Regions from separate parts of the Homo sapiens genome. Here all the other regions are linked to region 1. The links are contacts of gene promoters, found by promoter capture Hi-C in human tissues and cell types (Jung and others, 2019). All regions are on one chromosome and are shown on one strand. Each heading gives the region's core, a stretch centred on a gene start or on the middle of the fragment in contact. The rest is flanking DNA. Distances are from core to core; before and after follow the strand shown.

The links. The method cuts DNA at HindIII sites, captures the fragments that hold promoters and counts their contacts. A contact is called where the count stands out against the background at its distance.
Region 2: a contact is called between a fragment that was not itself captured here and the fragment with the promoter of ROCK1 in region 1, in 1 of the 25 tissues and cell types used here (dorsolateral prefrontal cortex).
Region 3: a fragment that was not itself captured here is called in contact with the fragment with the promoter of ROCK1 in region 1 in 1 of the 25 tissues and cell types used here (dorsolateral prefrontal cortex).

What each region holds. Positions count from the first base shown.
Region 1 is chr18:21,109,628-21,114,140 of GRCh38, reverse strand. ROCK1 (Rho associated coiled-coil containing protein kinase 1) reads left to right here and starts at 2,328. Exons shown (of 33, transcript NM_005406.3): 1 at 2,328-3,323. The coding sequence starts at 3,231. RefSeq lists enhancers at 1,730-1,789, 1,820-2,039, 2,139-2,433, 2,087-2,675 and a silencer at 2,080-2,469. The HindIII fragment of the contact is 9,004 bases long and covers 1-4,513 here.
Region 2 is chr18:21,540,196-21,544,708 of GRCh38, reverse strand. All of the region lies in intron 8 of ESCO1 (establishment of sister chromatid cohesion N-acetyltransferase 1), which reads left to right. Among named protein-coding and RNA genes, the nearest start is that of ESCO1, 58 kb to the left of the region's middle. The HindIII fragment of the contact is 5,589 bases long and covers 1-4,513 here.
Region 3 is chr18:21,444,131-21,448,643 of GRCh38, reverse strand. It overlaps GREB1L (GREB1 like retinoic acid receptor coactivator), which reads right to left. Exons shown (of 33, transcript NM_001142966.3): 11 at 4,235-4,420. All of the region lies in intron 1 of GREB1L-AS1 (GREB1L antisense RNA 1), which reads left to right. Among named protein-coding and RNA genes, the nearest start is that of GREB1L-AS1, 4.7 kb to the left of the region's middle. The HindIII fragment of the contact is 4,052 bases long and covers 519-4,513 here.

The DNA of each region.
Region 1 (4,513 bases), core at 1,079-3,578:
GATCACGAGGTCAGGAGTTCGAGACCAGCCTGGCCAACATGGTGAAACCCCATCTCTACTAAAAATATAAAAATAGGCCAGGGCAGTGGCTCACGCCTGTAATCCCAACATTTCCGGAGGCCAAGGTGGGCGGATCACCTGAGGTCGGGAGTTCAAGACCATCCTGACCAACATGGAGAAACCCCATCTCGACTAAAAATACAAAATTAGCTGGGCATGGTGGAGCATGCCTGTAATCCCAGCTATTCGGGAGGCAGGAGAATCACTTGAATCCAGAAGGTGGAGGTTGCGGTGAGCCGCGATCGCGACATTGCACACCAGCCTGAGCAACAAGAGTGAAACTCCATCTCAAAACAAAATAAAACAAACAAAACACCAAAAATTAGCTGGGCGTGGTGGCGTGTGCCTGTAATCCCAGCTACTCCGGAGGCTGAGGCGGGAGAATCGCTTGAACCCGGGAGGCAGAGGTTGCAGTGAGCCGAGATCGTGCCACTGCACTCCAGACTGGTAGACAAGAGTGAAACTCCGCCTCGGAGAAAAAAAAAAAAGTTAATTTAGAGTCCATCTATCTTATGGCAGAAGATAACTAGATTTAGAGTCCATCTATCTTATGGCAGAAGATAACTAGTGATGTGTCACAATAATCAGAAGAGCCTTGTAGGTAAGTAAGCTATATATGGACCCCACCTATATTTCTAGTAGATATTTCTAGAAATATATGGACCCCACATATATTTCTAGTAGTTCTGCCAGGTTGGTTATCACTTCCACTTATATTTATCAGTGTCACTCATGTATTGTCTTAACTACTTGTATTTTTTCGTATGTGTCTAAATGGAAAGCAACATAATGTTCACGGTTCTCTGAGAAACAACAAAATTCCTAATACCTAAAAATGGTAATAATAATAAAAAAAAGACAAGCAGGGTTTAGGAAATTTATTTTAGGGCAACTGCCTGATTTATTTTAAGCCCTATGCTTAAAAATAAGTCTAATTCACATGACTTAAAATGCTGGAGCCAAGAAAAGTCGCTGCAAAGGCATTTAATGAAATACCTGGTTTGTCTAGTTGTCTTTGTTATGATTTTTGTATAAACCAAGAACGTCCTATCTTGATATATATAGTGGATTTTATATCTAAATATTTCTTGTATTTAATAAATTGAAAATAGAAATAGACATTTTTTCAAACAGTGTAAGATTTTCCTAACCTCTGACTCACATCGTAAGGCTGGTGGACTGTTCAGATGCTGTACGATGCTTTTTACTCCGATGCTTTTTGGTTCATCTGTAGCATTTTCCATCATGGGGTAAAAGATCCACATTTTCTATTTCTAGTGATCCTTAATTTGGCTTCTGAGCAAAAATAAAGTTTGATGAGGAATAAATTAAGGTAGATTTCCTGCTGAAACCAGTGAAGAACATAACTTTATCAGCGGGGGTGAGTGACAAGTCTTTCACCTTTCCTCACACCACAGTCAACGAAGTAACGGAACTAGGAGAAATGCCCATTATTCTCATGTCCTACATTAGTTCTGATAAAAATCACAATTAAGTTTCACTGAATGTTTTGACATTGAAACGGCAGCATTACACGTCCAGGAGAGAACTACAGTAGGGGTGTTATGAGAACTAACACGAACGACTTAAAAATATTGATTTTTTTCTACGAGATTATTTTCCTTTAAAAAAATTAAATTGAGCTTGACTTCTATTGACTGTATCTTCCGGAGTCAGTATTTTATGGCTCCCCTGACACACACGCCTGGCGTGGGAGGGCTGAGCGCTGCAGCGCTTCGGAACTTTCCCAGTGAATCGTAAATGGGTTCAACGCCGGGGCTCGCGGAGGGCTGTCCATGGAGTACCACTGAAAACCAAACGCCACTGGTGCTCAATGCTGGTACCTGCCGACGAAAAGGCTTCTTGCCTAAAAAAGAACCTATTGCCCCACCCTAACAGCAACAAGGAGAACAAGCACTCTCTCCTCGTCAGAAGTCTCTGGACTGGCTGCAACCCAGAGGAAACAGAGCTGGGGCATCTGCCGGGACAGCGATCAGAAGCAGCCAGAGCTCCGCCTCCGTCCGGACCTCCAAGGCCGCTCCAGAGCCCTGCATGGCTCCTCAGAGCCGGCCAAGGCGAGAACCTTGCCGGCAGCTGCTTACCCGCACTCGGCTCCTCCCAGCGGTCCGCCTTCTCCACCGCCTGCCCGCAAGGCCCCGCCCACCTCACCGCCCCGCCCCACCCCACCCTGCGGAGGCGACAGAGTGCGCGCGCGCGCGCGGGGTCCCGGCTGGTTCCCCTTCCGAGCGTCCGCGCCCCGCATGCGCAGTCTGCCCCGGCGGTCTCCGTTTGTTTGAACAGGAAGGCGGACATATTAGTCCCTCTCAGCCCCCCTCGCCCCACCCCCCAGGCATTCGCCGCCGCGACTCGCCCTTTCCCCGGCTGGGACCGCAGCCCCTCCCAGAAGCTCCCCCATCAGCAGCCGCCGGGACCCAACTATCGTCTTCCTCTTCGCCCGCTCTCCAGCCTTTCCTCTGCTAAGTCTCCATCGGGCATCGACCTCGCCCTGCCCCACCGGACACCGTAGCAGCAGCCCCAGCAGCGACGGGACAAAATGGGAGAGTGAGGCTGTCCTGCGTGGACCAGCTCGTGGCCGAGACTGATCGGTGCGTCGGGCCGGGCCGAGTAGAGCCGGGGACGCGGGGCTAGACCGTCTACAGCGCCTCTGAGCGGAGCGGGCCCGGCCCGTGGCCCGAGCGGCGGCCGCAGCTGGCACAGCTCCTCACCCGCCCTTTGCTTTCGCCTTTCCTCTTCTCCCTCCCTTGTTGCCCGGAGGGAGTCTCCACCCTGCTTCTCTTTCTCTACCCGCTCCTGCCCATCTCGGGACGGGGACCCCTCCATGGCGACGGCGGCCGGGGCCCGCTAGACTGAAGCACCTCGCCGGAGCGACGAGGCTGGTGGCGACGGCGCTGTCGGCTGTCGTGAGGGGCTGCCGGGTGGGATGCGACTTTGGGCGTCCGAGCGGCTGTGGGTCGCTGTTGCCCCCGGCCCGGGGTCTGGAGAGCGGAGGTCCCCTCAGTGAGGGGAAGACGGGGGAACCGGGCGCACCTGGTGACCCTGAGGTTCCGGCTCCTCCGCCCCGCGGCTGCGAACCCACCGCGGAGGAAGTTGGTTGAAATTGCTTTCCGCTGCTGGTGCTGGTAAGAGGGCATTGTCACAGCAGCAGCAACATGTCGACTGGGGACAGTTTTGAGACTCGATTTGAAAAAATGGACAACCTGCTGCGGGATCCCAAATCGGAAGTGAATTCGGATTGTTTGCTGGTGAGTAGCGCTGTTCTCTTTTGCTTGTCTGGGGTTTTGCATGTCTTTCCTTCCTCTTGCATTAGTCTGGTTCGCTGCAAAAGTCTCAGGTGTGCATAATCGTCTTGGAAAATGCTAGATTTCTGTTTCCTGAAGAATCTTGGAGTACCATTAACATCTCATGGTGTGGTCCTATTTGCCATTTGACTGGCTCTGTACTAACTACTCTGAACTTTTAATTCTGACTCAGTTCATGAGTACCCGAAAGATACTTACAAACTGCTATTGCAGGCATCCTATAAAAAGTTATCACGTCAGAGTTACTGCAATGTATACAGTTTGTTGAATGGCGATCGTAGTAATTAATGTTAATCTTTCTGATCCGTTTGACAGTTAAATTGGAAAGACTACTTTGCATTTTTTTTCCTTTTTGCGATTTAGCTCCTAGGGGTTTAGTTTTTAGCCTTGAAAATGATAACGGAGAATTGCTATTGAGGAAGTGATTTTTGAGCCAAAATTTCATAGGTGATTTGAGTTTGAAGGAACTTTTTGCTAAACTATTGTAAAAAACCAAGATAATTGGTCATAGGTAATTACAGTGTTAACTTATTTTATTGTATTATTGGTTACAAAAGTACGTACCATACAGTTATTGTAACTGTCTTTTTGGTGGTGTGGCACTTAACATTGTCACTTGTAAAACATTCTAAAGAGGGTTTTATGACATGAAAAACCACAATCCCATTTTAAAAATAGTTAAGTGGTTGATAATACAGTTATCTGTAAATAATTGGAATTCTTAGGTTTGATACATTTCCTCTGTAAATGTATCAAAGTTGTTCAGAGTTTCTGAACAACTAAGGGTTATATAATATTTCTTGGTCCAAACAAAACCACATAATCTCTAAAATAAGGTTTCAGGGAGCATGTATATGGACAGGATTTCACAATGTCTTCGGTGAAATAATGTTAGATATGCTCAATTTTGGGGATTAAGATTAAGGAAACAAAATAATACCATTCAAAGAAATAATACAATTCAAAAATCGCATCTTGAATCAAAGGAAAATTAATGTAGATTGTTTAAAATTAACGTGCATTTCAGTTACTCTAAATTTCTGTTTATTTGTATTTTTCCACGTGTATGGGTTTTACAACAAGCTTCCCAAAGCTTTCAGAATTGTTGTAAGCATCCCTGACCAGGAAATAAG
Region 2 (4,513 bases), core at 515-3,014, 430 kb before region 1:
ATTATTTTGAAGTAAACTTAGGCATCATGTTATTACTTTAGTAGATATTTCTAAGTATGTACTTCTTTTTTTTTTTTTTGAGATGGAGTTTCACTCTTGTTGCCCAAGCTGCAGTGCAATGGCATGATCTTGGCTCACTGCAACCTCCACCTCCTGGGTTCAAGTGATTCTCCTGCCTCAGCCTCCCAAGTAGCTGGGATTACAGGTGCATGCCACCACGCTTGTCTAGTTTTTGTTTTTTTTTTGTTTTTTTTTTGTATTTTTAGTAGAAACGAGGTTTCACCAGGTTAGCCAGGCTGGTCTCGAACTTCTGACCTCAGGTAATCCGCCTGCCTTGGCCCCCAAAAGTGCTGGGATTACAGGTGTGAGCCACCATGCCCCACCTCTAAATATGTATTGCTTAAAGATGAAGATTACTCCTTTTTTGTTTGTTTTGAGTTGGAGTCTCGCTCTGTCGCCCAGGCTGGAGTGCAGTGGCGCGATCTCGGCTCACTGCAACCTCTGTCCCCTGGGTTCAAGCAATTCTCCTGCCTCAGCCTCCCAAGTAGCTGGGACTACAGGCGTGCACCACCACACCCAGCTAATTTTTTTGTATTTTTAGTAGAGACAGGGTTTCACCGTGTTAGCCAGGATGGTCTCGATCTCCTGACCTTGTGATCCGCCTTCCTCAGCCTCTCAAAGTGCTGGGATTGCAGGTGTGAGCCACTGCGCTTGGCCAAAGATTATTCCTTTTTTAAACATAAAAGTACCTTAAAGAATATAACTACACCTTCAATAAATGAATTAATTGTTGAAATCAAGTTTTCTATCAGAGTTCAAAGCTTCCCAAATAGCTCATGATTTCCTATGTTGCTTATTTGTTTGAATTAGGGTTTATATATTACATTGGTTGTTATGTCCCTTTAGTATCTTTTAATCCCAAAGTTCTCCCTGGTTCTGTTTTTTTCCCTTGTAATATTTGTTTATTTTTTGAAAAGCTGGTTGTTGGTTTTATTTCTTCAAATATTCCTTCAAATGTATATTCTCATTCAACCTTTTCATGAAATTGTGATTAATGTGAACTTTTAAAGTCGGGGTATTATTTATACAATTAAATCTACACATCTTAAGTGTTTGGTTTGAATTTTGATCATTGTATATACTCAGTGTATTTACCACTCAGTGTATTTTGTTTCCAATTGTAATCCTTTTTTTGATGGAAAAAGGAGAAATCCATTCTTTAGACTGTACAGTTTAGAGTAACTCCAATAGCAAGGAGAAAAGAGTAATAATTTCTTAATCCCAACACTTTGGAAGGCCAAGGCTGGCGGATCACCTGAGGTCGGGAGTTCGAAACCAGCCTGACCAACATGGAGAAACCCTGTTTCTACTAAAAATACAAAAAAAATCAGCTCGGCGTGGTGGCACATGCCTGTGATCCCAACTACTCGGGAGGCTGAGGCAGGAGAATTGCTTGAACCCGGGAGGCGGAGGTTGCAGTGAGCCGAGATTGCGCCATTGCACTCCAGCCTGGGCAACAAGATTGAAACTGTCTCAAAAAAAAAAATAAATAAAATAATAATAATTTCTTGCTGTTAGAAATACAAATTAGGAATATAAAGTTTTCTGCTTTTCATGAAGCAGAAATGGATGAAGTAAGAAAAAATGGGTTTTGGAAAATACTACTTGTTAGCAGAGGGTTATGTGTAACATACTAGTCCTGAAATATGTTGGAGCTAAAGGTCAGAAGTGTAAGTGCACTGCATTGGAATTTATTTCTTTGCAAAAACGTTGTGGCTATTTGATTATTCTTCTAAATTGCATGCACTCTTTCCTGAACCCTGCTTCTCCTCTGCCTTAATTTTAAGCATTGGATGGACTTTATCGCCTCTAAGTTTCTCTGAAGTAAGGAGGGTCATGTGGTTATTGTGACTAGCAGTTAACTGTAGTTGAGGCATAGATATGTCTTGAGTATGTTATTTGAACAAATATTAGCTAACTTGTTTCTTTCATCTTTTATTTGCCTATGATTTGAATTTATTGCTGTATTTACCCTTGGGAACATTTATTGATTGACTGTTTTGTTAGATTAGTGCATTGATCTTAGTTTGATACTAGTAAGAAGGGAGAATGGAAGTTGCTAAGAGTTACTTAGTGGCTACTCTTTGAGCAGTCATCTTAAATACAGCACCCTCGTACCTACCCAAGTGATGGAGGTGATGATAGCCATTTTTTAGAATGCTAAGATCAGGAAACAGAATCAGAGTTCCAGTGATTTGCCTAAGGCCATGCATCTAGTAACTACCAAGAACAAGGATCTAAACCCTGAACTTTTACTCTAGAGTTACTTAAAAGTTTTCACTGAAATATGCTTTCTTAGCTTGGCATGGTGGTGCACGCCTGTAGTCCCAGCTACTTGGGAGGCTGAAGCAAGAGGATTGCTTGAGCCCCAGGAGTTTGAAGCTGCTGTGAGCTGTGATCTTGCCACTGCACTCCAGCCTGGGTGACAGAGTGAGACTCTGTCTCAAATAAGTAAATTACATTAATAAATAAAACTTGCTGTTTTCATGAACATTAGAAATCTAAGCAATACTAAGTATCCTTTTGCAGCCTTTGCTTCTTAAAGGGCTTTTATTTAGTACATGAAAAAAAGGTACTATTTAAAACATAAAATTATATCAAATGGAATTGTGATAAAAATTTCGGCATGAACATACAAGTCTGAAGTTGTTTCAAGAGAAAGTTTTGCACTCAAAAATTAGTAAAGCAAAATAATTTGTCTAATGTCTATAATGCAATATAATGACATGAAACCAGTATTACTGTTTTCAAAGGCATTTAATAGGAAAATAGTTTATGGAACTGTCTTTAGATGATTCAGTTCAGGAAGAATGGTTTTCTTATAACTTGAGGTTACTTACATTTTTAGGTCTTTTCGATGTTTTAAAGTGAAAATCTCTTTTCATTTTATTAAAAATAGGTTCATAAATTTAAAAGCTTTTTCATAAAGTAACATTAGTAATAGAAATTTGTTTTTAAAGAGGTGATGTCTTGTAAATCTTCTAAAAATTGTTTACCTATATTCAGATCTCTATATGATTCAGATTTACTTTCTTTCTTTTTTTTTTTTTTTTTTTGGGACAGTGTCTCGCTCTGTCACCCAGGCTGGAGTGCAATGGCGCGAACTCAGCTCACTGCAACCTCCACCTCCCGAGTTCAAGCAATTCTCCTGCCTCAGCCTCCTGAGTAGCCAGAACTACAGGCGCGTGCCACCACACCCGCCTAAAAATACAATAATTTTTTGTATTTTAGTAGATTCGGGGTTTCCAGGATGGTCTCAATCTCCTGACCTTGTGATCTGCCCTCCTCCCAAAGTGCTGGGATTACAGGCGTGAGCCACTGCACCCGGCCTTAAGTTTCTTTTTTAAAACCTTATTTACGTTGAAGAACTACAGATTTAGTTTCTTAGATGAAAAAAGGACTTCTGTGGCTATTGTTTCTGCTCCTTTCTTTTCAAATCTTGAGAACATTTTACCAATCATAATTTTAATCATCTGAATTTTAACTTGGGTACTCTATTATGTAAACAAATTTTGGATTTTAAATATTTTAATTTAAATTGTTACATATACCAAGCTTATTACCTAGAATTTTTGTTCCCAACTATGATCTTTCTACCTTCCCCCTCCAAAAAATTCCTGATGGTTTAAGAAAACGAATCTGCTTTCACACTTGCCATAGTATATTTTTAAAGAAATCTAGTTGCCATTTTCTTGGTTTCATTGAGCTTTTTGTGTTCTTAGAAGAAACATCAGAAAAAATATGGTGGTTTTCTCTACTAGAAGTATAAATGGCTTCTGGAAAGGCCTTTTTATGTAAAGTTGGTTGGGTTAAGACAACTGGAACAACTAGTTAAGCTCATTCCTTCTGTACTTATTTTGAACTTCAAAGCTCCTAGTTTTAACCTCTGGTTCAGTCCCATCTTACTAGATTTAAGTGGCTTTTGTTTTGTTTTGTTTTTTTATGCAGGTTCTGCTCATTAATCACCACGAGTGTGGATCTGAAGAAGAGTTTATTACCTCTCTTTTTTTGAGTATGTTTAACTTCAGATACACACAACGTAGCTTCTCCTTCCCTATTAGATTCTTAGAAGGTAGTTATATTTTTTATAGTCTCCTTCTTGTGGCTTTGGTAGTTGTGATCAATAAGCATAAGACTATTCCTTTCATACTGGGCTACTGCATGCAAATCAGTTCATTTAAAACCTCCTGGAGGTCTTTGGCATGCCAGACATAAAACTTGGAGTGTTTGTTTGTGGAGGTAACCATGTTCCAATGAAATATAAGAGTTTAATTCTTTTATCAAGAATCTGGGAGAGTTATAGTTTCTGGGAATTACTGACTTTAAGGGGCTTGCTTTTGGTGTGTGGCTTTCAAAATTAATTTAAAACGGGAAATGATAAATTAGAAATACTCTTGTGGTATTAGATATATCTCTGAATGAGTAGTAGAGAGAAATTAGCTTGCCTTGTACC
Region 3 (4,513 bases), core at 1,295-3,794, 330 kb before region 1:
TATTTGAAACTCAGGCTCCCATAAACCAGCTCAGACACCTCAGTGTCTGTGATCTGAGACCAAGCAACAGCCCCAGAACCCATGGCTAAAAGCCCCTTATGGAAGAACAAAGGGGTGATGGGCTGGACTTCTGCATGAGAAGGAGGCACCACAAATGAGTCAGACCCATTCCTTCCTCTAATAGGGATCTAAGTGGTTTCTCTGGCCCTTCCCATCTTTTCTGGGAAAGTAAGAAAATGAGGTGTTTAGTAATGCTCTTCAGATATGGAAAATTAAATAAAATCTTATACATTATAAAAACAACAATTTTAATTGGAGAAAACAGTTTTTCCAGGATTGGGTGGAGGCCAGGGAGAGGTAGGAGAGTAGAATTCTCATAAACAGATTTTTCTCCTCTATACATGGAAACAGGGCAAGAAAATGGTAATGTATACATTATGTCTGTGTTTCTTCTATGCTGCTGCTGCTGCTTTTTTTTTTTTTTGAGACAGTTTCCCTTTGTCATCCAGGCTGGAGTGCAGTGGCGCGATCTCGGCTCACTGCAACCTCCACCTCCTGGCCTCAAGCAATTCTCCTGTCTCAGCCTCCGGAGTATCTGGGATTACAGGCATGCCCAACATGCCTGGCTAATTTTTGTATTTTTGATAGAGATGGGGTTTCACCATGTTGGCCAGACTGCTCTCAAACTCCTGACCTCAAGTATCCACCCTATTCAGCCTCCCAAAGTGTTGGGATTACAGGTGTGAGCCACCGTGCCTGGCCTCTACTGTCCTCAAAAAACTTGCTGGGAATGTGGAGGGATGCTCTTTAAAAAAAAATCACCTAGGAGCCACCAAGATGTCTGATCTTCATTCAGCTTTATCAAATTGGCATCATGGTTAATTGTCACTAGGTAAACACTTTTCAGTGAGCTCAAAGTGGATAGAAGGTGGTCATTTATTTAACGCTTTCTTCCACCAGAACATGACAGCTGAAAAGCAGGTGGCCCTGGCTGTCTCCAATTCCCTACCGTCTTTCATTAACAACCTGAAAGCTCAGGGGCCTGGTTAGTAGTCCATAAGACTCACTCCAGGACTAAGTAACATATTCTATCAGGAGGCATAATTAATTGAAAGCACAAAGGCATTCTGGGAAAATAAAATTACTAAACATGTTCACAACATCCTTTGTTGCCTTAAAGCTCGCTTTTATACAGTTTTGACTGATGTACAATTAGGAATCAAGAAGTGGAGGAAAAGGTATTAAGTTTAAATGAGGTAAGAGACTTCTTAGAGTAAAATGCCTTGTTTCCAAAAATCAACTATCACTTTTTCATCCTCAGCCTTTTAAAAAAATTTTTTTTTTAAATTTTTTTAATTAGAGACAGGGTCTCTGTCTGTCTGCCAGGCTGGAGTACAGTGGCACAATCATAGCTCACTGCAGTTCTGAACTTCTGGGCTCAAGTGATCCTTCTGCCTCAGCCTCCCAAGGTGCTGAGATTACAAGCGTGAGCCACCACACCCAGTACCTCATCCTCAGCCTTTACAATTACATTGCAGGTGTCTTTTCTCCACTTTCGCAAGCTTGATAACAATAATCTTTTCCTTCAAGTGCTGATCTCCAATAACTTAGGTTAGCTGAGGTATCAGTTTTAATGACTTTTCAGAAAGAACTACCTTAATAGGAAAAGTCAAGGTTTAAATAGACTCAGAGCCTTACAAGAATCTCTGGATTTGCTGATTTCATTATCTACTTCAAAGATTTTCTGACTGTGAAATGACTGAGATTTTTTAAAAGTGACTGTAGTGAAGAGGTATGGTTCCTTCTGAAGAATCTTGCTTTTCTTCTTCTCTGATACCTCTAAGTAACTGAGCCGCTGAAGTATTAAAAATCCTTTTAGAAGTTTAGATTTATTTTTTTAAATGTCTATAATCTATGCCATATGTGAAACTATTCTTGCTTGCCTTCTTGAAACCTCCAGAGGCAAGAAATAAAGAAATAAATAAATAATAAATAAATAAAGGACTCCAGAACAGTTGTTGAGGGATAGAGATGTCTCAATGTACAAAGCTTAGGTTTTAAAAGAGAAATAGCTATTCATGTATATCGAGAGGCCTAACTGATTGACTGCAAGTCAAATTCAGGAAAGAACTGATCCTGCAGGTCAGAGAAGAATCTGTGTAATTAAATTGAAATTGTTTCTTTTTTTCTTTTCTTTTCTTTTTCTTTACAAAAGATAAGAGCATTTAGTACTTTAAGAAAAGATATCTTATTTTGACCACTTGGTTCATTTAATTAAATTAGACTCCGATTTTAAAAATTGCTATTAAGATTGAAAAGGAGGCCGGGCGTGGTGACTCATGCCTGTAATCCCAACTTTGGGAGCCCAAGGCAGGTGGATCACCTGAGATCAGGAGTTTGAGACCAGCCTGGCCAACATGGTGAAACCCTGTCTCTACTAAAAATACAAAAATTAGCAGGGTGTGGTGGTTCACGCCTGTAGTCCCAGCTACTCGGGAGGCTGAGACATGAGAATTGCTTGAACATGGGAGGTGGTGGTTGCAGTGAGTCGAGATCGCACCACTGCACTCCAGCCTGGGAAACAGAGTGAGACTCGGTCTCAAAACAAACAAACAAATAATCAAACAAACAAACAAACTGAAAAAGAGTGCTATAGTGATTTTCTTGGTTGGCTATATCATCACTTTATGAAGCCTGGTTTTACTAATTCTGGGTGCATTTAGAAGTTGGCTTTAGATCTTAGAACACAGTCTATAATCTAATTTCAGTATGTAGCAATTAAAATTATGTCATCAAATGAGCTGTGGACCCAGATGAGCTTTATAATTGTATTACCTTTCAATAAGCATCATTAGTAAGTCCTAGGTTTATCATGAAATTGGTGCCTTGTAAATTTCAAAAGGCCATGTCGAAGCAGAGGCCAAGTCAAGGCAGCCTCTCAGGGCACAGAGTTCTAGTCAAGATTGCTAGCTAATGCACCAAACACTGAATATGCCCTAATAAAGCTTTTTTCTTTCTTTTAAAGTTATTTAGTCCAGTGTTTTTATTATCTCCTAACACTGAAGTATTTTCTAAAATTAAAAAATTTCACAAGAGTGCATACTAATATTTTTATGTGTAATTTTACATCTCAAATATTTTTTTCTTTTCTTTTCTTTTCTTTTTTTTTGAGATGGAGTTTCACTCTTGTTGCCCAAGCTGGAGTGCAATGACGTGATCTGGGCTCACTGCAACCTCCGCCTCCCGGGTTCAAGCAATTCTTTTGCCTCAGCCTCCTGAGTAGCTGGGATTACAGGCATGCGCCACCACGCCCAGCTAATTTTGTATTTTTAGTAGAGATGGGGTTTCTCCATGTTGGTCAGGCTGGTCTCGAACTCCCCACCTCAGGTGATCCGCCCACCTTGGCCTCCCAAAGTGTTGGGATCACGGGCGTGAGCCACCGTGCCCGGCCACATCTCAAATATTTTTCTAAGTAAATCAGTGGCTTGAAGTGATAGAGTGAGTGTATAATTAGATGGCCTACTGCCATTTGCAAAATAAAGGACATTTCGATGTAAATGCTGCTAAGCCACTCTAGTATTGTCAGGGCACCTGCATACACCCACTTTGGGGCTTCGGAGAATATATCAGATAGAGGAAGTGAAGGGTTCATGACCTACATATCCCCCTTACCCTATAGCTTAAAGACCTTCCAGGGAGGTCCACAGTTATGACCTCAATGATGGAAAGCACGATGGGACTCCATCAAAGGGGTGTAGCTGGAGAAGAAAAAAAATGGGTGTAGGGCCAGTGGATAAACAAGATAAAAAGGCTAAGTGGAAAACTGGAAAATAATTGTTTAAGACAATGGCTGTGTTTGCACTCCAGATGGTAGGTGCACTTTCAGAAAGGTGGCCTGGCCAAGCTCCCCAGAGAAGGGGTGCTCAAGGCACAACCCTTTAAGGTTCTGCCTACCTTAACTACTTTGGAGACCTTTGCAGCATCATGAGACTGGACACTAGGTGGTGCAATTCATCTCCTCTAGGACCCAAAGAAGAGGAAAGGAAAGGAGTAGAAAAGAAATGAAGGAGAGGAAAGGGAAAAGTTACAGAGAATGGGGTTGAAGGGAAAGAACATTAGAAGCGAAAGAGGGAAAATAAGAGATAGGAGGATAAATGTGAGAAAGAAAGAAAAAGTACATCACAAAAAATCCTCAAAAGTAGTCACCAGCAAATGATTATGGAAAATGACTTACCCAGCCGCACAAGATACTGTATCGTCAGAAGAATCATGTTTTCCACGCTCAGAAATTGGCTGCCGGTCAACCCTAATTTTTCCAAATCTTTGTTTTCCAACTGTGGAATCTTGTAGCAATTCACCAGCAGAGGACTCACAACAATGTCACCAACATTTCCATAGAAATAGGGTAAAGTGCCATAGCCTGTCCCAATAGAAGCAGGTCAGTACAGTTCAACATTTCTTTTTATGGTCCAACCAGGTACACTTGCTCAACGACGATCAAAGCTGCTTAACA